7 separate regions of the Homo sapiens genome follow, and all the other regions are linked to region 7. The links are contacts of gene promoters, found by promoter capture Hi-C in blood cells and fetal thymus (Javierre and others, 2016). All regions are on one chromosome and are shown on one strand. Each heading gives the region's core, a stretch centred on a gene start or on the middle of the fragment in contact. The rest is flanking DNA. Distances are from core to core; before and after follow the strand shown. Region 1 overlaps SLC60A2 (solute carrier family 60 member 2). Region 2 has its middle 4.7 kb from the start of CCN6. Region 3 overlaps FAM229B (family with sequence similarity 229 member B). Region 4 overlaps TUBE1 (tubulin epsilon 1). Region 5 overlaps SLC16A10 (solute carrier family 16 member 10). Region 6 overlaps SLC60A2-DT (SLC60A2 divergent transcript). Region 7 holds the start of TRAF3IP2 (TRAF3 interacting protein 2).

What was found. Contacts are between HindIII fragments. The CHiCAGO score rates a contact against its expected background, and 5 or more counts as called.
Region 1: a contact is called between a fragment that was not itself captured here and the fragment with the promoter of TRAF3IP2 in region 7, in 4 of 17 cell types (neutrophils, megakaryocytes, M1 macrophages and 1 more). The highest score is 6.3, in neutrophils.
Region 2: a contact is called between a fragment that was not itself captured here and the fragment with the promoter of TRAF3IP2 in region 7, in 7 of 17 cell types (total CD8 T cells, activated CD4 T cells, non-activated CD4 T cells and 4 more). The highest score is 11.6, in total CD8 T cells.
Region 3: a fragment that was not itself captured here is called in contact with the fragment with the promoter of TRAF3IP2 in region 7 in 1 of 17 cell types (total CD4 T cells); the score reaches 5.0 in total CD4 T cells.
Region 4: a fragment that was not itself captured here is called in contact with the fragment with the promoter of TRAF3IP2 in region 7 in 2 of 17 cell types (activated CD4 T cells and non-activated CD4 T cells); the score reaches 5.9 in activated CD4 T cells.
Region 5: a fragment that was not itself captured here is called in contact with the fragment with the promoter of TRAF3IP2 in region 7 in 3 of 17 cell types (neutrophils, naive B cells and naive CD4 T cells); the score reaches 7.0 in neutrophils.
Region 6: a fragment that was not itself captured here is called in contact with the fragment with the promoter of TRAF3IP2 in region 7 in 3 of 17 cell types (neutrophils, activated CD4 T cells and non-activated CD4 T cells); the score reaches 7.3 in neutrophils.

What each region holds. Positions count from the first base shown.
Region 1 is chr6:111,262,910-111,266,503 of GRCh38, reverse strand. It overlaps SLC60A2 (solute carrier family 60 member 2), which reads right to left. Exons shown (of 4, transcript NM_153369.4): 3 at 2,558-2,674; 4 at 1-628. Among named protein-coding and RNA genes, the nearest start is that of SLC60A2, 5.4 kb to the right of the region's middle. RefSeq lists a silencer at 2,304-2,598. The HindIII fragment of the contact is 2,247 bases long and covers 1,024-3,270 here.
Region 2 is chr6:112,047,674-112,051,077 of GRCh38, reverse strand. No RefSeq gene overlaps it. Among named protein-coding and RNA genes, the nearest start is that of CCN6, 4.7 kb to the left of the region's middle. The HindIII fragment of the contact is 1,388 bases long and covers 922-2,309 here.
Region 3 is chr6:112,094,208-112,097,798 of GRCh38, reverse strand. It overlaps FAM229B (family with sequence similarity 229 member B), which reads right to left. Exons shown (of 4, transcript NM_001033564.3): 2 at 598-758. Among named protein-coding and RNA genes, the nearest start is that of FAM229B, 8.4 kb to the right of the region's middle. The HindIII fragment of the contact is 2,839 bases long and covers 832-3,591 here.
Region 4 is chr6:112,072,467-112,075,941 of GRCh38, reverse strand. It overlaps TUBE1 (tubulin epsilon 1), which reads left to right. Exons shown (of 12, transcript NM_016262.5): 8 at 1-5; 9 at 1,092-1,232; 10 at 3,044-3,184. Among named protein-coding and RNA genes, the nearest start is that of TUBE1, 13 kb to the left of the region's middle. The HindIII fragment of the contact is 6,092 bases long and covers 1-3,475 here.
Region 5 is chr6:111,220,870-111,224,278 of GRCh38, reverse strand. It overlaps SLC16A10 (solute carrier family 16 member 10), which reads right to left. Exons shown (of 6, transcript NM_018593.5): 6 at 1-2,276. The coding sequence ends at 2,044. Among named protein-coding and RNA genes, the nearest start is that of SLC60A2-DT, 37 kb to the left of the region's middle. The HindIII fragment of the contact is 2,991 bases long and covers 591-3,409 here.
Region 6 is chr6:111,242,101-111,245,847 of GRCh38, reverse strand. All of the region lies in intron 1 of SLC60A2-DT (SLC60A2 divergent transcript), which reads left to right. Among named protein-coding and RNA genes, the nearest start is that of SLC60A2-DT, 15 kb to the left of the region's middle. The HindIII fragment of the contact is 1,769 bases long and covers 818-2,586 here.
Region 7 is chr6:111,604,146-111,607,900 of GRCh38, reverse strand. It overlaps TRAF3IP2 (TRAF3 interacting protein 2), which reads left to right and starts at 2,023. Exons shown (of 9, transcript NM_147686.4): 1 at 2,023-2,125. RefSeq lists enhancers at 427-1,059, 1,905-1,954, 2,245-2,314. The HindIII fragment of the contact is 15,213 bases long and covers 1-2,756 here.

The DNA of each region.
Region 1 (3,594 bases), core at 898-3,397, 340 kb after region 7:
AGCACCAGAAATAAAGATGAAGTCAGGCTGCCAATGTTGCTCAACACAATCATGGTTCCAGGCTGTAAACAGGTAGCAAAAAAGATTGCCAGGCCCCTGCAGGCTGCAAATGTCCCCCAGAAGATGGAGTTCAACCCAGCAGCTTCACTTTCTTTCATGCCAGCATGGGTGGTTGCAAATGAGAAAACATAAGAGCCATATGTTACCTCAGCTCCAACATAAAAAAAGAAGAACAGAAAAAGGAGACAAAGAAGGGCGTTGTGATATTTTGCTCTTCGAAATGTCTCAGCAGATGCTCTTGCTTTTTCTTGCTTTGAGCTATTCTTTAAAAACAGACAAAAAAAAATGACAGAAACTAAGAACATGTAAGTACCGATAACAGCATAAGCCCACAGTAAATTCTTATCATTAGGTACTCCAAACAGAGCTTCTGAGTCAGCATCAGATGATTGGTTGAGTGCAGGATGGAAGTCAGACTCTGTGTGGTTTTCAGCAGACGCTGTCGGACCCAAAGCCAGTTTAGCTAGCAGTGGAGCCAAAAAGGCACCCAAGGCAAAAGAGAAGTGTAAGGCCTGCATATGTGGGGCTCCTTTGTCCCCCCAAATAGCCAAGATAAGGACGTTACCACCTGTCGATGAAAGATGGGAAAAATTATTTAAGTTAAACAGTTACTTACTTATTAAAAAAAAAAGTTCACTTATCAGAAAGGGGGTGAGTCTATTTTACATAGCACAAGCATTATAATATTCTAATTATCAAACATTGCAACTAAATCAATTCTGAGAAAGGAATTCTAACCCACTACCACCAGACAACTCTAAGCATTATAACATCACATACTCACAAATCGAATTCTACAGTCTAGTAGACTACTACCTCCTAGAACCAAGCACATTAGCAAGACGCTTTTTATAATACAGTTCTAACATCAGACTGCAGAAGAAATATTTATATATTAATATTTTAAATATATATTTAAAAGGCAAAATTTTATCATCAGATAGTAGCCAAATTACCAAAGCTTTCTGTACTTGCTGTTGGTAGCCACTTGAGGAAAATTACTTACTTATGTATGTAACAGATGCAAAACACACGTCCAGGAACCTGAATAGCCAGGATTCTGGTATGCCCATTAGAGGAAACAAGGACACCGTTTAGCATCTGAATTTATACTGTCTAAACGTCTAGGAGGAGAAAGGCAAGAAGCAGCACATCTTGAGCTATCTTCTTTTTTTTCAACAGATATTTTCAGATAAATATATAATTCTACCCTATAATTTCATAACAAAATTAACCCTAAAGTAAAATAAAATATTTCCTCAACAGATCACGTAACAGCAAAGCAGGGAAGGGAGGGGTAGAAAGCTGGTTTTAGGAGTAAACAGATGTCATCTATGTTATTTAGTAGGTTTTCTGTTTGTTTGTTTTTGAGACCCTGGCTGGAGTGCAATGGCACAATCGTGGCTCTCTGCAACCTCCACCTCCTGGGTTCAAGCAATTCTCCAGCCTCAGCCTCCTGAGTAGCTGGGATTACAGGCACGCGCCACCATGCCTGGCTCATTTTATATTTTTAGTAGAGACGCGGTTTCTCCATATTGGTCAGGCTGGTCTTGAACTCCTGACCTCAGGTGATCTGCCCGACACAGCCTCCCAAAGTGCTAGGATTATAGGCGTAAGCCACCCCGCCGTTATTTAGTAGGTTTTTTTTTTTTTTTTGAGATGGAGTCTCACTCTGTCACCCAGGCTGAAGTGCAGTGGTGTGATCTCTGCTCACTGCAAGCTCCGCCTCCTGGGTTCATGCCATTCTCCTGCCTCAGCCTCCCGAGTAATTGGGACTACAGGCGCCCACCACCACACCCGGCTAATTTTTTGTATTTTTAGTAGAGATGAGGTTTCATTGTGTTAGCCAGGATGGTCTCGATCTCCTGACCTCGTGATCCACCCATCTCGGCCTCCCAAAGTGCTGGATTACAGGTGTGAGCCACCGCACCCGGCCTATTTAGTAAGTTTTAAAAGACATGATGATGATACGGGAAAGAATCTACTGCAGGAGGCCAGGAACTTTGAGGACAGAAAGAAAAAGAAAGAGCCTAGTCCACACTATGGATCTCTCTTGGCTTGGAAGTCAGGGTAAATGTCAAGTTGGATTGCTGCTTCTATGCTTTCTCAGCCAAATAACAGTTCCAAACTTGGTTTAACCTATTAAACCACCAATTCCTCCCATACTAGAGCAATAAAGTTCTACCCCAAGATGAAGGCCTATTCACCTGCACTGTAATTACCCACACAGGGGCCCTTCCCTGTTTGGACAATGTAAATCAATTATCTCTCATAGAACAAAATTCTTTAAGTTCATTTCAGAGTTGGCTGCTCAGAAACAGGCCCCCTAATTGGCAAGAATAGCTGCTAGAAGGGTGATTCATTCTGAGTGACTCACAACCAACTCAGTAGGTCTGTGTCATTTTAGGGGGCATTGCAAGTGACAGTTTAGTATCATCTGCTGTACTTCTTCTAGCAAGTCCCTACTCCCAGAGATGACGTTGAAGAGCTCACTAACCTGTATCCAGAATGCCAATTGAAACACCGAAGATAGACATCATGACAGTGAGTAATATTGCTGTCTTGCAAAAAGGAACAAGATAAAGACCAACGGTGGTAGCCGACATTGAGATTCCTGGGAAGGTAGAAACTCAGCTATAAAAAATAATATCCATGCAGTCATGGATCAAGTCAATATCATAAATGTCCAAACATGCAAAATCAGGTCAAATTTAAATTAGATAATGAGTAGATGAGAGTTTTTGCTTCTAAAAGTGATTATTTCATTTGAATCTTTTATAATCTTTATGGATTATGAAATATAAATAATTATAACACAAATACATTTAAAGCACTGCTAGTAATCAAACTGTAAATTATACCATAAGGCAAAGTTTTATACCAAAAGAGACAAGCCAAAACTAATTTAAATGATTCACATTTAAGAACCTAACAGGAATTTTTAGACATGAGGCAAAAAATTAAATAGACAAAAATAAAATGCAATTACTAGAGTAGTTTGTAATAAAATTTACTAAATAAATTAGTTTGGGAAATAGGGAGGAAAATACAAGAAATATGTTATTTCAACCCACTTTGGAAATAAGAGGGATTATTTATTAATTCCTTAACAATAACAAATTATTCTTGCTTCCAAAACAATTTTATCATATTAATCTAAATTTTCTCTAAATATTTCAATTTATTCAAAAAAAGTATATGCTAAAAGCTTTGCCAGCCCAGGCGTGGTGGCTCACACCTGTAATCCCAATACTCTGGGAGGCTGATCCTTTGAGCTCAGGAGTTCCAGACCAACCTGGGCAACATGGTGAAACCCCGGCTCTACTAAAAACACAAAAATTAATCAGGCATGGTGGCTCACACCTGTGGTCCCAGTTAATTGGAAGGCTGAGATGGGAGGATCGCTTGAGCCCAGGAGGGGGAGGTTGCAGTGAGCAGAGATCGCATCACTGCACTCCAGCCTGGGCAATAGAGGGAGAGGAGACCCTGTCTCAAAAAAAAAAAGCAGCTTTGCCATCTATTTCCAGGGTGAGA
Region 2 (3,404 bases), core at 366-2,865, 440 kb before region 7:
GAAAAGTGACCTGCAAAACCTCCCCCAGCTCCAGAACACACTGGCGCTGGGTTACTCACTCCCACATGTGTTTAGACATCTTTGGCTGTGGGAGCTCCTATTTAACTCTTTCCAGCCGACTGTGTGTGGACTCCATGGATATGGTAGTTTTAGAGGTCGGGGCTGCTATTTTTGACCTTACACAATAAGAGCTTTCACAGTGTGTGTCCTGTTCTGAGCATGTTTCCCTATTATCTCATTTAACAGAATGCTAATCTGTCTAGGAGCTCATTTCACAAGTGTTCAGTTTGTGATGTACGTTCCAATAGACATGGCGCTAAGCATAATTCAATGTGCACCATGTTCTATGATTTACAAAGAAGTTTCCTGTGTATTACATTTTTAATTTCACAGCTCAGTGAGGTGGGCAAAAGCAGTATTACCAACCTCATTTAACAGATTAAAAAGTGAAAGCTAAGCGATTATACTTGGTCAATAAAACACACTTAATCTCTGCCCTCTACAGCTAAATAATCTACTGGGAGAGAAGACGCTGAACAAATAAACACACAAAATGTCCGTCATTGAAAGTTGAATAAAGGCTAATAAGAGCAAAGAAGAAATTATAAGAGAGAATGACAGGTGAGAGCTAATTTAGATTGGGGGCAGAGAGGACATCTGAGGAAGTGATACTTAGTCAAGAGATGAAGCTAGATGAAGAGTCGGGAGACAACTGCCAGTCCAGGACTCCTTCCACTGGCAAGATGCACACCTCTAATGGTGGTGAGCTCCCCCGCACAGAGCACACCCCACTCCTTTCCCGTAAGATTCCTAAAATCGTTCTGTTAGGAGCGTCATCACAGCTAGAATAGTCCCTTCTCCTGGGAGTACCAGCCGTCCGGGCAGGCAGTGTTTGGAGCTCATGCCTGTGGTCAGCAAGCTTAGTACAGTATGAGTCTTCCTTTCCTCATCCCCTCTTTCCTTATCTTCCTATCTTACTGATTGTGGAGAAGGGTGTATTGACATCCTTGAGAAAAGAGAAGATATTGTTTGTGGAAGTAATGTATTGAATGTGTGCTATGAGGGGGGTCAATATTTGCTCCAGTGAAATAGAGATATAGTAACAATAACACAGCTTGGGCAACATAGTGAGACCCCATCTTTACAAAATAGAAAGTAAAAAAATTAGCCAGGTGTGGTGGTGCATACCTGTAGTCCTAGCTACTTGGGAAACTGAGACAGGAAGATTGCTTGAGCCCAGGATGTTGAGGCAACAGTGAGCTATGATCATACCACTGCACTCCAGCCTGGGAAACAGAGAGAAATCCTGTCTCAAAAAAAAAAGTATAATAATAATAAGAGCTAACATTGGCCGAGTGTCACTGTGTCTCAATATTGTACTGAGTGCTGTATATGTATTAACTCCTCTGATCCTTCAGCAACACTGGGCCTGTGTTCTGTGATTACCATCTTTGGTTTACTTATTAGGAAACTGGGGCAAGGTCACATGGTTAGCAAGAGGTAGAACCAAGATTCCAAGAATTTCATTACCATGCTCTGCTGCTCTCTGCATGGCCTGTAAATGACACCATGATCAGTAGCAGGATGATTGATTGATATATTAATTTGCATTGAGTTCTCTGTATTTTTCTTCCACCTGCTCCTCTCCTGGATTTCAAGAAGTTAGTGAGGCCCTTTAGGGTTCCCGCCTATCCATCCTCTAAGCACAGGATGGAAGCTGCTGGCATGCTTTATCTTGCCTTTTGAGATCCTGCCTTGTTCTCACTGGTAAGAGGTGATGCTGGGAGACGATGGGGAGGAAGAGGAGTGCAGCCGAGCATTGGGTGAGGACTGAACATTCAGGCCTCCCCATGCAGCAGCCCGGGGAGGTGACTAAAGCTCAGAGGGACTTGATGATTCATGGTACTTCCAGGAGGCTGCCCCAGTACCAGGGTGCCCTGCACTGGCTAAGTTCCTCAAAGAACTTTGTGAGGATGCAAAGCCTCAAGTGTCTATGCGTATTTGGATGATACAGGTATTGGCAGAAAACTTAGGAACTGATTATCAGAGGCCTGGCCCCTTTTTAGGCACCTTCTAGGCCTGCTGGATTGTCGTTCAACCCCCACTCATGGTGGCAGTGGTGTGGGTGGGTGGGTGGTCATGATGGTGGCCATGGTATTGGGGGTGGGGAGGAATGCACCAATGATACCTTAGAATAAATCCATCTCAGGATGGAGGCAGGGGAGGAGGGTTCAGAGCCTGGTTTAATTTGAATTAAAGAAAATGAATTTGTGAAGTCATACTCATACTTGCTACAAATACCACAAGCTTCACAAAGTAGCCATTCTCCTGCAGTGTGGACTCTCCCCTGAAAACTCACAGAACTCAGAACCAAAACCAGTGCCGGAGCATCTGTACCGTCTCCCATGGCCCTCTGTTCACTCCTGGCTTGGCCTGCAACCGGGTCTCTAATAATGCAGCAACTCTGCCCACCAGGTTGCTACTGCAAGCCCAACAAGGCTGAAGGATGTTTGCTTGGTAGGTGCTCAATAGAAACTAGGTGATTCAAAATAGAGTCCTTTTAAATCACCTTATACTACATACTGCATACTACCAAAGCTAAGCATGTCTATAATTTTGCATACATTTATCCATTGCGTTCTTTCCTGCCATTTGCAAACTATTACCATTACAGTCATATGTCCCTTAAAGATAGGGATATTTTCTTTTTCTTTTTTTTTTTTTTATTGATCATTCTTGGGTGTTTCTCACAGAGGGGGATTTGGCAGGGTCATAGGACAATAGTGGAAGGAAGGTCAGCAGATAAACAAATGAACAAAGGTCTCTGGTTTTCCTAGGCAGAGCACCCTGCGGCCTTCCGCAGTGTTTGTGTCCCTGGGTACTTGAGATTAGGGAGTGGTGATGACTCTTAATGAGCATGCTGCCTTCAAGCATCTGTTTAACAAAGCACATCTTGCACCGCCCTTAATCCATTTAACCCTGAGTGGACACAGCACATGTTTCAGAGAGCACAGGGTTGGGGGTAAGGTCATAGATCAACAGGATCCCAAGGCAGAAGAATTTTTCTTAGTACAGAACAAAATGAAAAGTCTCCCATGCCTACTTCTTTCTACACAGACACAGCAACCATCCGATTTCTCAATCTTTTCCCCACCTTTCCCCCTTTTCTATTCCACAAAACCGCCATTGTCATCATGGCCCGTTCTCAATGAACTGTTGGGTACACCTCCCAGACGGGGTGGCTGCCGGGCGGAGACGCTCCTCACTTCCCAGACGGGGTGGCTGCCGGGCGGAGGGGCTCCTCACTTCTCAGACGGGGCGGCCGGGCAGAGACGTTCCTCACCTCCCAGAAGGGGCGGCGGGGCAGAGGCGCTCCCCACATCTCAGAAGATGGGCGGCCGGGA
Region 3 (3,591 bases), core at 1,002-3,501, 490 kb before region 7:
CTCTACCCTGAAATAACTTGCATGTATTCAACTATTAGTACACAATGTATTCAACTATTAGTACACAATGTTTTCAACTATTAGTACACAATGTATTCAACTATTAGTACACAATGTTTTCAACTATTAGTACACACTGTTTTCAACTATTAGTACACAATGTATTCAACTATTAGTACACAATGTTTTCAACTATTAGTACACAATGTTTTCAACTATTAGTACACAATGTTTTCAGCTATTAGTACACAATGTTTTCAGCTATTAGTACACAATGTATTCAACTATTAGTATACAATGTATTCAACTATTAGTACACAAAGGGTAGGAAAAATTTAAAATGGTGCAACTATTTCTTATGCCTAGTACAGTATTCTATGCCTAAAAGTGAATGTTTATTGGTGTTAATAATAAAACTAAATTAAGGTTTAAAAATTTGAATATGATAACTTTTATAGACTGTCTCAATATCAAGAAAAAAGTGTTTCGCTCAATGATGATTTAGTGAAACCATAATAAACTCTGTGGTTTAGTATAACTACCTATCTATGCAGGTATTAACATTTAGCTAATTTGATCAAGGATAAATAGACTTACCAAAAGAGGCTGAGTCTGATTCCTGTAGAGGTGAATAAATCAATGCTTTCTACTGGCCTTTCCACAGAAGGCTGGAATTGCCAAAGGAATGATGATCAAATGTTCCGGTGACACCCGGAAATTATGACATCAGGAGATTCTTTCACATAGTTTCCTACCTGCTAAAGAATCAAACATCTCAATGCATAGCTCCAACAACAAGCTGAGGCTTAGCTAAAAATTTTCTCTAAAGCTTTTTGGAGAGTTTCATTCTTGTTTTTACTGGCTTATTTCCCTACAATATTAGTATTTTCATCCATGAGTGGGGACCTACAGTCTAATCCACCTGTAGTAAATCAGAATTGAGATTCTTCTCATTTTATATCCTGTTTTCCTCATTCCCTTTCTCTCCCAGACCTTCTCTTATAACATCCCAAATAAATCCCATCTGTCTACATCCTCATCTCACTCCAATATCCTCAAACCCAAATTGTACCTTTACAAATTTCTCTATAACTCTTACATGGGATTCTTTACACCCTCTCTCTAATGCCTGGACTAACTTTATTTTTTTTTCCTGTTTCCTCAAGAGAGTCTTCAAATTCCCAAATGGCTGGAATAATTACAATTGTGAAAGGAAGAATACATCTTTTTTGTTGTTGTTGTTGAGACAGAGTCTCGCTCTGTCACCCAGGCTGGAGTGCAGTGGTGCTATCTTGGCTCACTGCAAGCTCTGCCTCACCTGTTCACACCACTCTCCTGCCTCAGCCTCCCAAGTAGCTGGGACTACAGGCACCCGCCACCACACCCGGCTAATTTTTTCTATTTTTAGTAGAGATGGGGTTTCACCGTGTTAGCCAGGATGGTCTCGATCTCCTGACCTCGTGATCCGCCCGCCTCGGCCTCCCAAAGTGCTGGGATTACAGGCGTGAGCCACCGCGCCCGGCCGAAAGGAAGAATACATCTTGTACTGTCCTCATTATTCTGTTCCCTGAGCCCTGGGCTGCTTCTCTGCTCATTTCTCTAACTGCTCTCCCTCTCCCAACTCATTCTTGGCTTCTAGATCAATAGCCCACCTCATGAACTTCTCCTCTACTCAGTAATGTTTAGTTTAACCCTTATACCAGAACATAACTCTTCAGCTAAGCAGTTTTTCAATTTTCATATCCGATGACTAAACTATTAAATGTTAGTGAGCATTTTTACCACTGTTGTGTTTTCATATGACTCAAGTTATAGAAAACTGGCATTTTACATAAGAATTAACTTGATGTTGGATACAATCTTACCTCCACCTTCTTTTTCTTACTAGGGTACTATCTGTGAATAAGTTGATCACCATTTCAGCTTGGAAAAATAACTGACGGTGTCACAGTCACACAAACAAATAATTGCTGGCCATTGTGAGCTAAGGTATCATTAGGACCTAAACATTTGGTCCTTAGGATGGCAAAAAATGTAATAGTTTACATGTTTGAGAGGTGGTAGCAGTGGGGAGAATGATGGGTTTTAGCATCAGAATTAGGTTAGAGGTTTTTTTTTTTCTTTTTTTTTTTTTTTGGTTTTTTTTTTTTTTTTTTTTTTTTTGAGACAGGGTCTTGCTCTGTCATCCAGGCTGGAGTGCAGTGGCATGATCATGGCTGACTGCATGCAGCCTCGACCTCCTGGAATCAAGCAATCCTCCTGCCTCAGCATCTCAAGTAGCTGGGACTACAGGTGCACACCACTATGCCCAGCTAATTTTGTATTTTTTTGTAGATAGAGGGTTTTACCATGCTGCTCAGGCTAGTCTCAAATTCCTGGGCTCAAGTGATCCACCCACCTCACCCTCCCAAAGTGCTAAGGTTACAGGCATGAGCCCACTGTGCCCAGCCAGGTTTGAATTTTGACACAATGTTAGCTCTGAGATTTTAAGCAAATCACTAAAAGTTTGTCTGTAAAATGGTATTAATTCCTACCTTACAGAGTTGTCGTGAGGAATTAAAAACAATCTAACATGTATAAAGCCAATAACTGGGACACAAGAATTCAATCAGCACTACTTCCTACATATTTTTGTGTCATTCTTGAAATCAGAGTATTGAGACACTGATTTCACCTTTTAGTCATGGATATATATGAAGTAAAATATCTGTAAGTGGGGTATTCTTAAAATCCTGTAATTTACCATTTTAACTAGTCCATTTGGCATACCATGCTTCTTTAGAATGGGTGATACAATGAAACAAACCAAACAGTAGTCTTAATGATGAAACTTTACAACATTAGAATGATACCTCAGAAGACAAAAGGAATTTGAGTCTCCAGCATATTTTCATAAAGCAATAGATAAACAAGAGCAATGCAAATGGTGAATAAAAAGATGAAGTATCCAAATACCCCCTTAAGTATCACAAGCTCAAGAGTAATAGTCTTTCAATTCTCAAGATATTAATTCATGAGATGCAGAAAATGAGTGATATTTGAACTTGTCATGTTCTAAGAAAAAAAGACCCATGGACTTCATTCATTCATTCATTTAATGAATATTTGCTGAGAATCCACCATGAGCCAGGCATGTGTTAAGTGTTAAAGATAAAAGATTAAGCAAAAACAAACACAGTTCCTGTTGTGGTAGAGTTTGTAGGTTACGATAGGATTTGTTTTAGTCTAGGATATTTAATCTAAATCTAAGAGATGGGGGGCATTAATTAGGTGGAAATGAGTGGGAGACAAAAACATTGACACAGTTGAGGAGGGGGCAAAGAGGAAAACAGCATGTGGAAAGGTCATGCTAGTAAAGACAATAAAAAATCTGAAAGGCCAGCATAACCACAGCATGGAAAACAGAAAATAAATGGAGTCTGAGACATAAGCACAGGCCAAATCACGCAGGAGCAAAAACTCAAGTTAAAATTTTAGACTTTATCTTATGAACAAGGAAGCCTATCAAATAATTTTAATTTCTCAGGACACATATTTAGGTTTCATTGATTTTTCTCTATTTTCTATTTACTATTTATTTTATTTCCACTC
Region 4 (3,475 bases), core at 931-3,430, 470 kb before region 7:
ACGAGGTAATTCTATCCAGGGATAGTCAAAAAACTTTATTGTGCTTTTGGAGATATTTTGAATTTTTGTAGTAGCATTTTTTAGTTATTCTAAATTGTAGAAGCTGCTTCTGTTTTTATTTTGTCTTCTATCTTTTCTTGGAGTGATCACGCAGAATTTTACCTTCTATGACTCCAAAGCAGCATTTCCCCAAGTATGTTCCATGGAATATGAACAGATATCATATGATGTAAAAGATTTTGTGGTTGACACACTTGTAAAACACGTAGACAAAATTAAACATTTTTTAGCTGTAGAATGTCTTAATCATTTAAACCAACTAATCTGTACCTCCTCATTAACTGGTCCAAAAGATTTCTGTGGCTTTTTGGTATCAGAGATTGCTTTGACATTATTATATTCTAGATTATAGAGTATATTAAGCAGATTCTTGAGGAAATTAGTTGTTTCTACAGTTACTAATTATTGACTTATATGTGTTTAACTCAAATATAAAGTTTGTTTTAAATAGGATATTTTTATATGTGTAATGAGCAACTATAATAGTATATTGATTACACTTCAGATAATCCAGAAAGAATGACTGTAGGGCCAGCCATGGTGGCTCATGCCTGTAAATCTCAGCACATTAGGAGGCCAAGGCAGGTAGATTGCTTGAGCCCAGGAGCTGGAGATCAGCCTGGGGCACATGGTAAAATCCCATATCTACAAAAAATACAAAAATTAGCCAGGCAAGGTGTTGTATGCCTACTGTAGTCTCAGCTGCTCAGGAGGCTGAGATGGGAGGCGGCGGTTGCAGTGAGCTGAGATCACACCACTACACTCCAGCCTGGGCAACCAGAGCGAGACCCTGTCTCAAAAAAAAAAAAAAAAGAAAGAAAAAAAAAATGTAGATGTTGTGTGTTATATTTTATTTTATACATGATTGTTCTGATACTAACTTTCACTAATATGGAAGAAAAGCATGTGTTCTGCACTGAAGAACAGTGTACAAAAGAATTTAAGAAACTACCTGCTGAATAAATCGAGCTACATTTAAAGTGTATAATTTTAAAATTAAAAATTTTCTCATTTTAATGTTAACTTTTTAGCTCTGCAAGATTTGAAGGGTCCCTTAATATGGACCTTAATGAAATCAGCATGAATTTAGTTCCTTTTCCTCAACTTCATTATCTCGTGTCAAGCCTAACACCTCTGTATACACTGACAGATGTTAACATTCCTCCTAGAAGGTAAGGTGTAACTTTGTTTCAATTTTTTGAGGCCTCAAATTACTTTAAAAAACATTTTTAAGAGAAAAAAGTTTGCAATAACTCTAGTTATTTAATTGTATCATCTTATCTGTGAGAGTTGATGACATCCATTTTTGCATTAGATGAATGCATCTTTATTTAGAAGTAATTGTTGAAAAATGCCAGTATTAAACTATTTGAACTTAAATCTAATGATTAAATTTGTAGGCTTATGAAAAGTCCTTTGAAGTCTGACAAACACATTTGAATCCTAACTGTCGCTAGCTACAGGACTTTGGGCAAGTGACTTAAACTTTCTTAGTTTTTCTCATCTGTAAAAATGAAATAGTACCTACCTCATATACTTATTGGGTAGATTAAATGAGAGTTTGTTTTAAAGCTACTGTCACAGCCCAGTACCATAGAAGAATTTCAGATGTAACTCTGTATGTTTTCCAGAACACCTTGCTTTATAACTGTGTGTCATTGTTAAGCATAAAGATTACATCAGTATACTTAACAAAAAATGTAGTTTTGAAAGATACTCTTAGCATGTATACTGATGATGAGCTTGAAAAGTTCACAGTGGCATTCACAGTTGACTGAGGGAAAAAGTCCTGCCAAACTCTGTAAGGAGACAGTATGTAAATAAGAAAGGGAAAACTAAATTGGCTGAGTGCAGTGGCTCACACCTGTAATTCCAACACTTTGAAAGGATGAGATGGGAGGATCACTTGAGCCCAGGAGTTCAAGACCAGCCGGGGCAACATAGTGTGAGACCCTGTCTGCACTTGTAGTCCCAGCTACTCTGGAGACTGAAGTGGGAGGATCACTTGAACCCAGGAGTTTGAGGCTGCATTGAGCTATAATTTTGATCCTGCACTCCAGCTTGGGCAACAAAGGAAGACAGACCCTGTCTCTAAAACAGATTGAAAATAATTTTTTAAAAGTTTTTAAAGAAAACTAAAGATTCTTTTTTATAACTAAAGTTTTGACAAGATAATTCTATACTTCAGGAATGTCACAAGTGATATTGGTAAGTTTTCATCTAAGCCAACAGCAAATGACCACTTTGCCAACTAATAGATAGGACTCCGTTTCTGCATGGGATGCTGATGACCTTAACAAGCTAAGCAACATACACAGTGTATGCAACATGGTGATTATTAAATGTCCATTGGCATCAGCCTAGCATTGGAGTCTGTGTATTGTTAGATATAAACTTTGTCAGTCACCTTTATTTTCTTTTGTCTTTTATCCTTCAGTTAAAAGACTTAGGTTAAAAGTCTCTACTTTTAGGAGAACTACTATGGAGTTTCATCTTTTATAGGAGAGCTTCACATTGTCCTTTGATAATTTCCTCCTGTTAACAAAATTTATGATATAATATACTTTACAAAGTAATAGTCTTAATGTTCTAGGCTTTTAATTAGTTTTAGTAGTTTGGATACTATGAAATAAATAAGGTATACCGAACTAAGTAATAATAATACAAGTTTCAAAAATCAGTACTACATAGAGTTCATAATGCTACAGTCAACATTTTGTAGCTACCTGAAATCACCCATATACTGCAGAAGCCTTTTCCCCCAGAAAAAGAAAATATTATATGATTTCTTCTCTTCTCATATCATTAAGATTGCTTCAAGAAAAGTATAGTTATTTAATATTTTTAGAATATATATAATCTAATATTTTGTTAGTGTAATATTTAGTGTGGTTTCTTACTTATAGAGGACTATCTTCATTTTATAGTTATACATAGAAAGAAGTAATATTTTGTATAAACAATGACAATTTCATTGTTGCAGATTGGATCAGATGTTTTCAGATGCCTTTAGTAAAGATCACCAGCTGCTTCGGGCAGACCCCAAACACAGTCTTTACCTCGCCTGTGCACTCATGGTTAGAGGAAATGTACAAATTTCAGATCTTCGTAGAAATATTGAAAGGTTTGGTTTATATTTTTAAAGATAATTTGTGTGTGCTGCTTGGGACAGTGTGGCATAGTAGTTAGTTAACAGCCGCCCTTCAAATTCTAGCAGTGCCACTTACTAAAGTGTGACTGTGAACAAACTACTTAGTCTCTTTGTGCCTTGTTTTCTTCAAGTGTAAAATAAGGATAATAATAGTACATGGTTTTTATTTAGGAGTCTTAAATGATATATGACATGTTTTATTTTATGAAAGTGTTCAGAAAATCGTAGCTATACTATTTTTATTACCACTGCCACCAGTACTAC
Region 5 (3,409 bases), core at 837-3,336, 380 kb after region 7:
AAAACAAAATTTAACATTTATTTTTTGTTTTTGATTTTCTTTTACAGACAGGGTTCTGCTCAGTTGAACAGGCTAGAGTACAGTGGCATAGCTCACTGCAGCCTCCATCTCAAGGCTCAAGCAATCCTTCCACTACCTCAGCCTCTGAGTAGCTGGGGCTACAGGTGGGCACCATCATGCCTGGCTAATTTTTAAATTTTTTGTAGACACAGGGTCTCATTATGTTACCCAAGCTGGTCTTGAACTTCTGGGCTCAAGTGATCCCCCTGCCTTGGACTACCAAAGTGCTAGGATTACAGGCATGAGCCACTATGCTTGGCCTAATTTTTTTTTTTATTTTTAGTAGAGACAGGATCTTGCTATGTTGCCCAGGCTGGTCTCAAACTCCTGGGCTCAAGCAATCTTCCCTCCTCAGCCTCCCAAAGTGCTGGGATTATAGGCGCAAGCCACCTTACCCAGCCAAAATTAACATTTATAATAGTGGGTTTGATGATTGGTCTTAGTAGTATGTTTTGTTGAACTTCTCAAAAATGAGAAAGTAACGTTTTATATAACTGGACATGACTGAATGAAATCATTTTCTAAAAGCTTATAATAAGGACATGAAAGGGTAGTATGGTCAAAATGTAGATTTTTTTTCCTGCAAAAGAACCATCCACAGGCAAATTATCTAAGTCCCCTGAATATGAAATATGACACTATTAGAAGTGGTAAGGTGCAACTGCATGTATGACAAAGTAAGTTGCTGAATGTCTTCACAATCAAAAGCACTAACTTTTAAAGGCCTCAAGTACTAAAGCATAATTTTAGGGATAGAGGAAAGTGTTCTTGTTTTTGTAAATGAGTATGGGTCATGGCATGACTTTGGTTTTATTTTGGGTCCTCAAACTGAGAGCTTTCTTATGATAATCTGTATATAAATAGCAAAAAAAAACAATGGGAATGTTCATAGGATAAATAATATGAGTGCAAATTTTTGCCAGAAAGTTCTGGAAATGTAGGACTTGGTTCTTTTTATAAGTGCTTTTAACCTTTTCAGACTCATTAATTTCATAAACCAATTTAAGCAATTATTTCTATCAGCTACAGATATTTTCTTCACAAATATAAAGGGTTTTGCTCCCCTCCCCATCCTCCAGCCTCCACCAATTTGTGCCTGTAACTGCCACTTGATAGCTGCTCAGTAAGACTTTAAATATCAGGTTCTAGTGCCAACAAATCCAGAAGTCAGAAAAATTCTAAGTTACAATCGCCAGAATATCTTTCATGCATTCTATTTTACTTTATTGTTACAGTTTAAACAAATTCAGAAACGTGGGGTGTTTCTGGCTACTTGAGTAAAACGCACTGCAAACGCAAAGGGAACAACGCTGTAAACTTAAATGATTTCTGAACAGCTCAGGATCCTCCTGGAGGGGATCCTTTTCATCTCACATATTGATTCTGAACACTATGTTAGCACCTGCTCCCAGAAGGTCCCTTGACACTGGAGCAAGTCAGAATATCTTAATATCATAGCTTATTTAACAGCAGGAAAGCAACTTTAACATAGACTTGAGGTTTAGGTAGATCTGGTATTATCTAGAACCCAGGCTTAAATTTTGCAAAAAGTTTCCAAAGAGCATAAGAAAGTAAAACAGAGGTACCAGAACTGAAGACATCATTAACAAACAAAATATTTCCACTCCTAACCAAACTGCAACCCTTTCAGTATAGCCTGAGGTATTTTTAAACATTTGTACAAGCTAAAGATCATTCACAGTTTCCAAAGCTGCTTTTTACTGAGATAGCTTCAAATTTTCACAATATGTGACTTTCAGACGTTTTCATATACCAGAGTCTCTGCCCTCAGACTCATGGAAACATCAGAGATATTTAGTGGCAGAAAATGGTTCTTCTAGTGATAAGGGTTCTATTTCCCAATTATTGTGCTATTCCTAGGATGTGATTAAAAAAATATGAAATTTGCAATTTGTATAAAAGGAAAGGAAACTTGCTTAAAATTCAAAAAGCAAGTCCAGTCTGGTGGAGGTATGTAAGATATTAAATAATAGAGTCAGATTCTTTCTTGAACATTCCAGATGAACTTGACAGCAGAGAGTTCTGGTTTTCCAACATTTTCTCCATCTTTTCTTTTCCAGTGGTTTTACTGATCTCTCTTTGCTTCTTACTATGGATCCACGGGATAAAACAAAGCACAGCACCTCCAATAAGGGGAGGGACTCCAGCGAGGTAGAATGCCACATCATAGGAGCCCAGTTTGTCACGAAGTAACCCTGAGAAGGGAAAAAGCTGTCACCAAGGGAGAACAAGTGTGGCTCTGTAGGGGGTCTAGATCAGCCACAGGACTGATTCAGACATCTCAGACATCAGACTTTTTTTTTTTTTTAGGAAACAGATCTGAAATATAAACCCTTTTTGATAGGAAGAAAAAGATCTCATATCTTTAACGTTGTCATAAAGTACAGTCCTCTGGATTTTCATACCAAGACATTACTTGAAAAGATAGAAAGGTAGACGTTTTTTTTTTTTTGAGACAGGGTCTCACTGTGTCACCCAGGCTGGAGTGCGGTAGCATAATCATGGCTCATGCAGGCCTTGACTTCCCAAGCTCAATTGATCCTCCCAGCTCAGCCTCTTGAGTAGCTGGGACTACAGGTGCATGCTACCATGCCTGGCTAATTTTTATATTTTTTGTAGAGATGGGGTTTTGTCACATTACCCAGGCTGGTCTCAAGCTCCTAGGCTAAAGCAATCCTCCCACCTCAGCCTCCCAAAATGCTGAGATTACAGGCATGAGCCACCATGCCCAGCTTTCAAACTACTCTTTGGTGTATTTGTTTTTTATGAAATAACATGAAAACTATTTAACATCATAATTCAAAATTAAGAAAAATTTTAAATTTAATAATTTGGATGAAAGTTAGGTTGTTAAATACATTTTGGAAATAGACTAAGGTTTATAAGTACCTGGAAGAAAATGTAAGTATATAAGAATTATTAATGGCATTCTATATTCGGGTTCTGCTTCTGAAAACTTTTACGGTACTCAACATTTCTAATTTCTCTAACAAATTCCAGGACTCATGGTTTTAAAAGTTATCTTAGTGTTTTTAAACTCTTATAACTTATACTATAAAACCTAAGTTATCTAAAATGTCCAGGGAATATACTGTACTAAATATCTATCTGACATTGTTAAATAAATAGCTGACCATTTGTCCAATTAAGTACCAACACATAAAAATGTGTACATCCATTCTGCATATATAAAATAGACAATATCTGTAAATGCACAAGTTTTCTATCTTTGGAATCAGACCATTCCTGAACTCTTCCTCCTTATGAACACTCATGATTATGTTCTGCTGTAATACTATGATGCCCTCAGAGCCTCCTGGTGAGCCAG
Region 6 (3,747 bases), core at 453-2,952, 360 kb after region 7:
CTTCATCTTTTTTTTTTTTTTAACTGCTCCTTCAATTGAGAATCACAAGATAAAAAGCATCTGCCTCAAAGGTTTAATACCTTTAGCATCAAAGGTTTAATACCTTTAGCATCATTTGAGACTCAAATCATTAAACTCAAAGGTTTAATACATTTAGCATCTTTTCAGAAAATACTATTTGCTGAGAATGCTCAAATGGCCAGGGCAACAGAAGAGAGTGGTATTCTCTCTAAATGCTACGAGGATTCTAGATAAAAGTCTTCTTTTCCAAGTTACTTCTTGATAAAAGTTCATATATCATAAGACATTCAGAGGTACTTTTTTTTCTTCTTAAGCACCAAAGCTCTTTTGGATTTGTACGCATAGGATGAAGAATGGCAATTGCTAGGCAGTAGAGCCTCACCAATGAAAGTTGTTTGCTCTCCAGTATCTGAAGAGACTAGTCTTTGTTTGAAAACCTTGTGATAATGTCACTTGGGGCAGACACCTTGGAAGAGGATGCCCATTCTCTTCAAGACCCATGATAACCATCCTTTATTGCCACTAGCCCCATAACTAGGATCAAATCTTGACATCTCCAGGTGGGCAGGTACACACTATGATCCAGGAGGAAATAACACCAAAATAACTGCAATATTTTGTTAATATATATGAATGGAAACCTGGTGAATGTGTGGAAGTGGATGCTAAAGGTATTAAACCAAGGAAAACAGAATAGAACACTAGATCCAGCTGAATTCACTGCTATGGATACACTTTACTAGGGACTGCAGGTTCAAAGTGTCAGTCCATGCAGCTGGAGATGGCTGTAAAAGCTTACTTGGTTGGTTGACTAAAAATTTCGACTCACTGGTGGTCTACAGTTAATGAGGTTGAAATGCTGGAGCTTCCTTGGCATGATGTGAAGGAAGTAATCCAAAGGCTAGCCTCTGTCTTTTTCCATAGCAAACTTCAATGCTGGAAGATTTTTGAGAAATGGCTACAAAATCCCATAGGAAAGAAAACATGAGCCAAATATTTTCAGGTGTAAAGACAAAAGATAAATAGTTTGAAGATGAAAGAACTCTTGGAATATTATTTTCATAAATCCATTTGAGAAATGTTAGAAGGTTCAGTAGAACAAGAGATGAGTGGAGAAACAACTGCAGACGGGATTGGCAGTGAGCTTTGATGCAAATCACAGGACAAAGACAAATATGAGGATTACGGTGGAAAGATGGAATTTAAATGTTATTAGCCCTGATGATGTAGAAATGATAGAGCAATAAAAAGTGGAAAGCAATGGATGGAAAAGGATGAAAATATACTGATTTTTTTGTTTGTTTGCTGGATACTATGGTGTGTGTCTGTAATCCTAGCTACTTGGGGGGCTGAGGCAGGAGGATTGTTTGAGCTCAGGAATTTGAGACTAGCCTGAGCAAAATAGTAAGACCCCATCTCTAAACAATTAAAAATTATATATATGAAATAAAGTATACTGATTCCTCATCTTTAATAACTAGAGGTGAAAAGTTATTACTTAAAGCTAATTAAATGAATAGTAGAGTTATAAGTATAAAATGGAATAATACAGAGGTAAAATAATTAGAGGTAAACATGAAGAAAGATAATATTACTAAAATCAGGTGATAGAGAGGGGGAGATGGAGGAAAAAATATGTTAATTCTGTCATTGTAAATAGAAGAAAACTATTATATACTGTTGGAGTGGGGGAAGGAGGAGAAGATGAATTATTCAGTGAGTAGTAACTAGTATCAAGAAAACTGGAAAAATCCAGTTGACCCTTCAACAGCACAAATTTGAACTGCATGAGTCCACTTATATGTGAATTTTTTTCAATAAATATATGGAAATTTTGGGGGGATATTTGCAACAATTATAAAAAACTTGCAGACAAATCACATAGCCTAGAAATATGGAAAAAAGAAAATGTTAGGTATGTCATCAACGCATAAAAATATGTAGACACTTGTCTATTTTTATCATTTACTACCATAAAATATACACAAATCTATTATTAAAATGTTAAAATGTATCAAAATTTACACACACAAACATCAGACTACACATGGCGCCATTTGCAGTCCAGAGAAATGGAAACAAATGTGAAGATGCAGTATTAAATCATAACTGCATACAACTCACTGTAGTACACACTGTACTGCTGGAATAATTTTGCAGCTGCCTCTCGTTGTTGTCGTGGTGGGCTCCAGTGTTGTGAGTATCCACCCAAAACGTTGTGTGACGCTCGTCGGTCATCTCCACTTGCCCAGTTCATCTCTCCAGTAAATTCCATTGAAGTAAAAACTAATTTCTCTCAGTTCTTGCATTTTTTGTGTGTGTTTAGTGTGAGAAAAATGAAATCCTAAGCCCCCCAACCAACTAAACAGACTCCTTTCTCGGCCAAAACTCAGTTCCAGCTGTGACGAGATGGGGGCCTCATTACACCTGCTCCTGCTCTAACTGCTCTTAGGTTTTCTTCCTTAAGGGTTACAGAGAAGCCAGCCCTTCTGAGAGACTTGCTCCACTGCTGATAGCCACCAACCACCTGTCGCTGCCCTTCCATTTGGCAGTTTGGACAAAGCTTTCCTTCCTCATAAGAGACCAGGGTCCACAGAGTGGCTCTGGCCAGTCTACCAAGGATGAGCAGAGAGGTTTTCGTGTTGTCTGCTTCACCACTTGAAATCAGAGGGCCAAAAACTCCACCCTTGGATGGAGGGTGCTAACACTGCCACTTTTTGAACATGGGTCCCATGGAGAAGCATGAAGCTCTATTGTGCATGTGTGTGTTTCTCCTTTCATAAATAATCATAACTCCTCCTATAGCTTATTAAGTATGTATATTTGGCCACCTGCTTCAGCAAATCTCTGTCATACTCTTCCCCCTGTCAAAGTGTCTGTTTTTGGCTTCTGGCTGGAGGCTGTTCTTTCCAGCCTGTCAGAATGGCCACCCTGCAAGCTGCAACCCTTTATAAGAAAGCTCTCCTTTCCAAATGTATGAACCTCCATCGTTCTTCAGTTGACAAGTGCAATACTGTAAACCTTGAATAACACCATGGGACCCATACAAAGTGCCATTAGTGATGCCTGAAGTGCACTCAAGAAGCAGATAAAAGTCATGATATCACAAGAAAAAGCTGAACTCCTTGATATGAACCTTCGATTGAGGTCTGCAGCCACAGGCGCTGACCATTTCAGACAGATGATTCATCTTGTAAACAGACAATGTGAACTTGGTTTGATGAATACAGTAAAATACTGTACATGCATTTTCTCTTAAGATTTTCATAGCTGGGCACAGTGGCTCACATCTGTAATCCCAGCACTTTGGAAGGCCGAGGCAAGAGGATTGCTTGAGCCCAGGAGTTCGAGACTAGCCTAGGTAACATAGTGAGATCTCCCATCTCTACCAAAAAAAAAAAAAAATAGCCAGGCATGGTGGCACGTGCCCGTGGTTTCAGCTTCTCTGGAGGCTGAGGTGGGAGGATTGCTTGAGCCCAGGAGGTCAAGGCTGCAGTGAGCCATGACTGAGCCACTGCACTGCATCCTGGGTGACAGAGCAAGACCGTCTTAAAAACAAAAACATAAAAAGGTTTTCTTAATGACATTTTCTTTTTTCTATCTTAAGAATACAGTATATGATACATATACAAAATATGTGTTAGTTGACTGTTTATGTTATCAGTAAGGCTCTGGTCAATAACAGGCTATTAGGAGTTAAGTTTTGGGGGAGTCAAACATTATGCA
Region 7 (3,755 bases), core at 774-3,273:
CTCGTATGGCCTGGTTTTTCCTAGGTTATGATTATAGAGCAAGGTTTATTGTAATATTGGAATAAAGAGTAATTGCTACAAACTAATGATTAATGATATTCATATATAATCATATCTAAGATCTATATCTGGTATAACTATTCTTGTTTTATATTTTATTGTACTGGAACAGCTCGTGTCCTCGGTCTCTTGCCTCGGCACCTGGGTGGCTTGCTGCTCACAAGGTGGGAGGATCCCTTGAGACCAGGAGTTCAAGACCAGCCTCAGCAACACAGGGAGACCTGTCTCTAGAAAAAATTTAAAAATTAGCTAGGTGTGGCGGTGTGCACCTGTAGTCCCACCTACCCGGGAGACTGAGGCAGGAGGATTGTTTGAGCCCAGGAGGTCAAGGCTGCAGTGAGCTATGATTGCGCCACTGCACTCCAGCCTGGGCAATAGACTGAGACACTGTCTCTTAAAAAAAATCGATATACATATCTATGTGTGTGTATATGTCACATATATTGGCAAAAAATAAGATAATACTTTTAGTTAAATAATATCTCAGAGCCACTTTTTCATGTTAGTGGCTCAGATAATACATACATATTGATGATTTTTAATAGCTGCATCATTTTCTGCAAACCAAATGCAAACAACCTGTGTATACTGTGTTAAAAACAAGCTGCATTTTCTCTGCTTGTGGAATGTTGAGCAACCTGCTTCCTGTATCCTGCTTGAGCAGAACCTGGTACAATCTGAACAGGGATGCTCTGGGGCCTGTCCCCTTGATGAGAGTAGAGAGATAGCCGGCTGAGTGGACTGACACTTGGACCCCTTCAACAGGCAGACAAGTCCAGCACCAGGAGCATGGTGTGTCTGCCCAGGGCGCCCAGCTGGCCAGTGACATGGCTGAGTTCGTACCCAGGTCCTCCTGACTCCAAAGCTCCAGCTAACACTGCTCCCATTACTGACTGCTGCCCCGAAAGGCAGTTGTCTCTCTCTCTCTCTGTTCACATCGCTGGGTATCATCCTGCCTGCAGCGCTCCTTCATGCAATAAATTCTGCAGGCTACTGATTAAACAATGGGAAGGAAAGGGGAGAAAAAAAATCTTGAGGTCAGGAAAATGCAGCCAGAGGAGGTTAGTGTGCATGTGTGCATGTGTATGTATGTGTGTGTGTGTGTTCTTAAAATTAACCACTTTTTTTGTGCCTGACAATAGGGTGGTGTGTGTGCACAAGCCACAGGCATGTGTATGCTGTGTGTACACGTGTGTCCAGGAGCATGGTCAGTGAGCCCCCCCCCACCCCCCCAGTGGTTATGGGCAGCAAATACTGATTTTTTGGGTTTTTTTAAATTTTTTTTTTGAGACGGAGTCTTCGCTCTGTCGCCCAGTCTGGAGTGCAGTGGCGATCTCGGCTCACTGCAAGCTCCACCTCCCGGGTTCACGCCATTCTCCTGCCTCAGCCTCCCGAGTAGCTGGGACTACAGGCGTCCGCCACTACGCCCGGCTAATTTTTGTATTTTTTAGTAGAGACGGGGTTTCACCTTGTTAGCCAGGATGGTCTCGATCTCCTGACCTCGTGATCCTCCCGCCTCGGCCTCCTAAAGTGCTGGGATTACAGGCGTGAGTCACCGCGCTCGGCAATGCTGATGTTTTAAGCAGTTAGAGGAGGTGGAAGAAGCTCGACTCCCTCTTCTTCCCCATTATCTGCCCACAATCCCCTCCTTTGGAGCTGCTAATGATTACTAATTCTTAACATTCGAGTTCAATCTCCTCCCGGAGACACCCTCCCAGGCGAGGGCACTGCGACTACACTGAGGTTCTGCCCACTCCTGGGCAGCTTCTTAGCTGGGTGGCGAAAACAAAAATGCCGCCTAATTGGTCACTGGCCCTTTCTCATGAATGAAGGAGGTTTCTGTTTTAAGAAATAAAGTGACTCCTCAGCCGTTGATTCACTGCCCACAGGGAGATTTTGAGCAGAGGCTTCCTAGGCTCCGTAGAAATTTGCATACAGCTTCCACTTCCTGCTTCAGAGCCTGTTCTTCTACTTACCTGGGCCCGGAGAAGGTGGAGGGAGACGAGAAGCCGCCGAGAGCCGACTACCCTCCGGGCCCAGTCTGTCTGTCCGTGGTGGATCTAAGGTAAGTTATTCGGAGTTGCCACTTGCCTGGTCTTATTTCTTCACCTCTGACCTATTTCCCAAAGCACGCTGTTTCTCCTTTACTGAAACATTCTGCCTCTACTTTCCTCTGTGTTCGTCTCCCCTCCTTTAACTTGTTCGCACAGAGACCATCTTAGCTGAGAAAATGACAGTGAAGTTTGTGCTGCAAGGATGTGTTGCTAGTATAGTATTTCAGGCCAGCGAGCCCCGCCGGGTTAACCCTTTGAGGAGAGGAGGCTCGCACACGGGGACAGCTCGGAGCTGCCTGGGAACCATTCGTTTGGGTACTTAGTGTCCCCACAAGTTTCTCTCAAGAATTCAAGCCCCACTTCTCCAAAGAGAGAGCCAGGGATGGCAAAGATTAAGTAATTGGCTTTCAGCCCCAGAACACGTCAGTGGCAGTTTTCTCAATCCTTGTTTCGTGCAGGGGGGAAAAAAATCAACAGCACATTTTTGGGCCAGGAAGTTCTGCTGAGCTCTGTGCTGGCTGTGAGCCGCCTCCCGGCCCCTCTCCGCAGCCGCCCTCCAGCCCTCCCAGCCTGGCGCTGGACGGAGCCTTTGGGAACAAGGGGGAGAAATGCCAGAACTTGATCTTAGAAGCTAATCAAGCTTCTTGTGACTTTCAAGTTCAAGATGGTATCTTAGAATAGGGGGATTTTTTTTTTTTTAAAGGAACAGGAGAACAAGAGGCCAAATTTTTTAAAAGGACAAGAAACTTGGTTTCAAGTTCTTCACTTCTTGTGGTTCCATGACTTAGGCAATTCACTCTGACTCCACTAAGCCTGGATTTCTTCATCAGTAAATTGATGGGGGGTGGTGATCTAACATGAGTGTGTCAAATTCCCTTATAAAACAAAGCCAGGATAGTCCCAGAGGGGTAGTGGTAATGGGTGGTCTTCAAGACTTGTTTTGTTTACCGATTATTCACATATTTTAATTTTACCTCCCACTACCAGTTGGTTACCCCCTTGAGGAAAGGACTTTGTTTCCTGATATTTTTCTACCTCCCAGAATCCAGCATGCTACCAAATGCCTAGTAGGTGCTCACCCCCCTTCCATGTCAACTGCTTTGATTTCTGTTTCACTCGTCTGCTCTCAAGGCAAGAGGTAAAGCAGCAGTCAGGGCGAAAGGCTGGGAGACACGTGTCTCTGCGGGAGGGCTGCCTGGAATTGAGGCCTTATTACTGGCTCTAGCCAAATAGGAGAAAACAGGGAGTTTCTCGAATTAGTTCATGTCCCATTTGGGTTACCCAGGAAGGATAGTCTGTGCTATTGTCCACAGAGTCAAGGCAGGCCAGAGAACTGGCAGACAAGCCCAGCTCCAGAAGCCAGAGTTACTGCTGTAGCTGGACCTGGAAACCACTCCTCAGCTGGACCAGTCACTGTGTGTGGGGCCTTTAATGGGAGGGGAAGGGAAACTATGAAACACATCCTAATACCATGTAAGGGTGATGACTGTGATTAGAGACATTATTAGATGGCGGATACACAGAATCCTTAACTTTTTCCAGACCGTGACTTAAAAAAAAATTGTCATTGTTTCTTTTTGGCAATTACTTGCCATCAATACAGTTCAAACAGGCCCTAGCTGACTGGGATGGGCTGGTGCA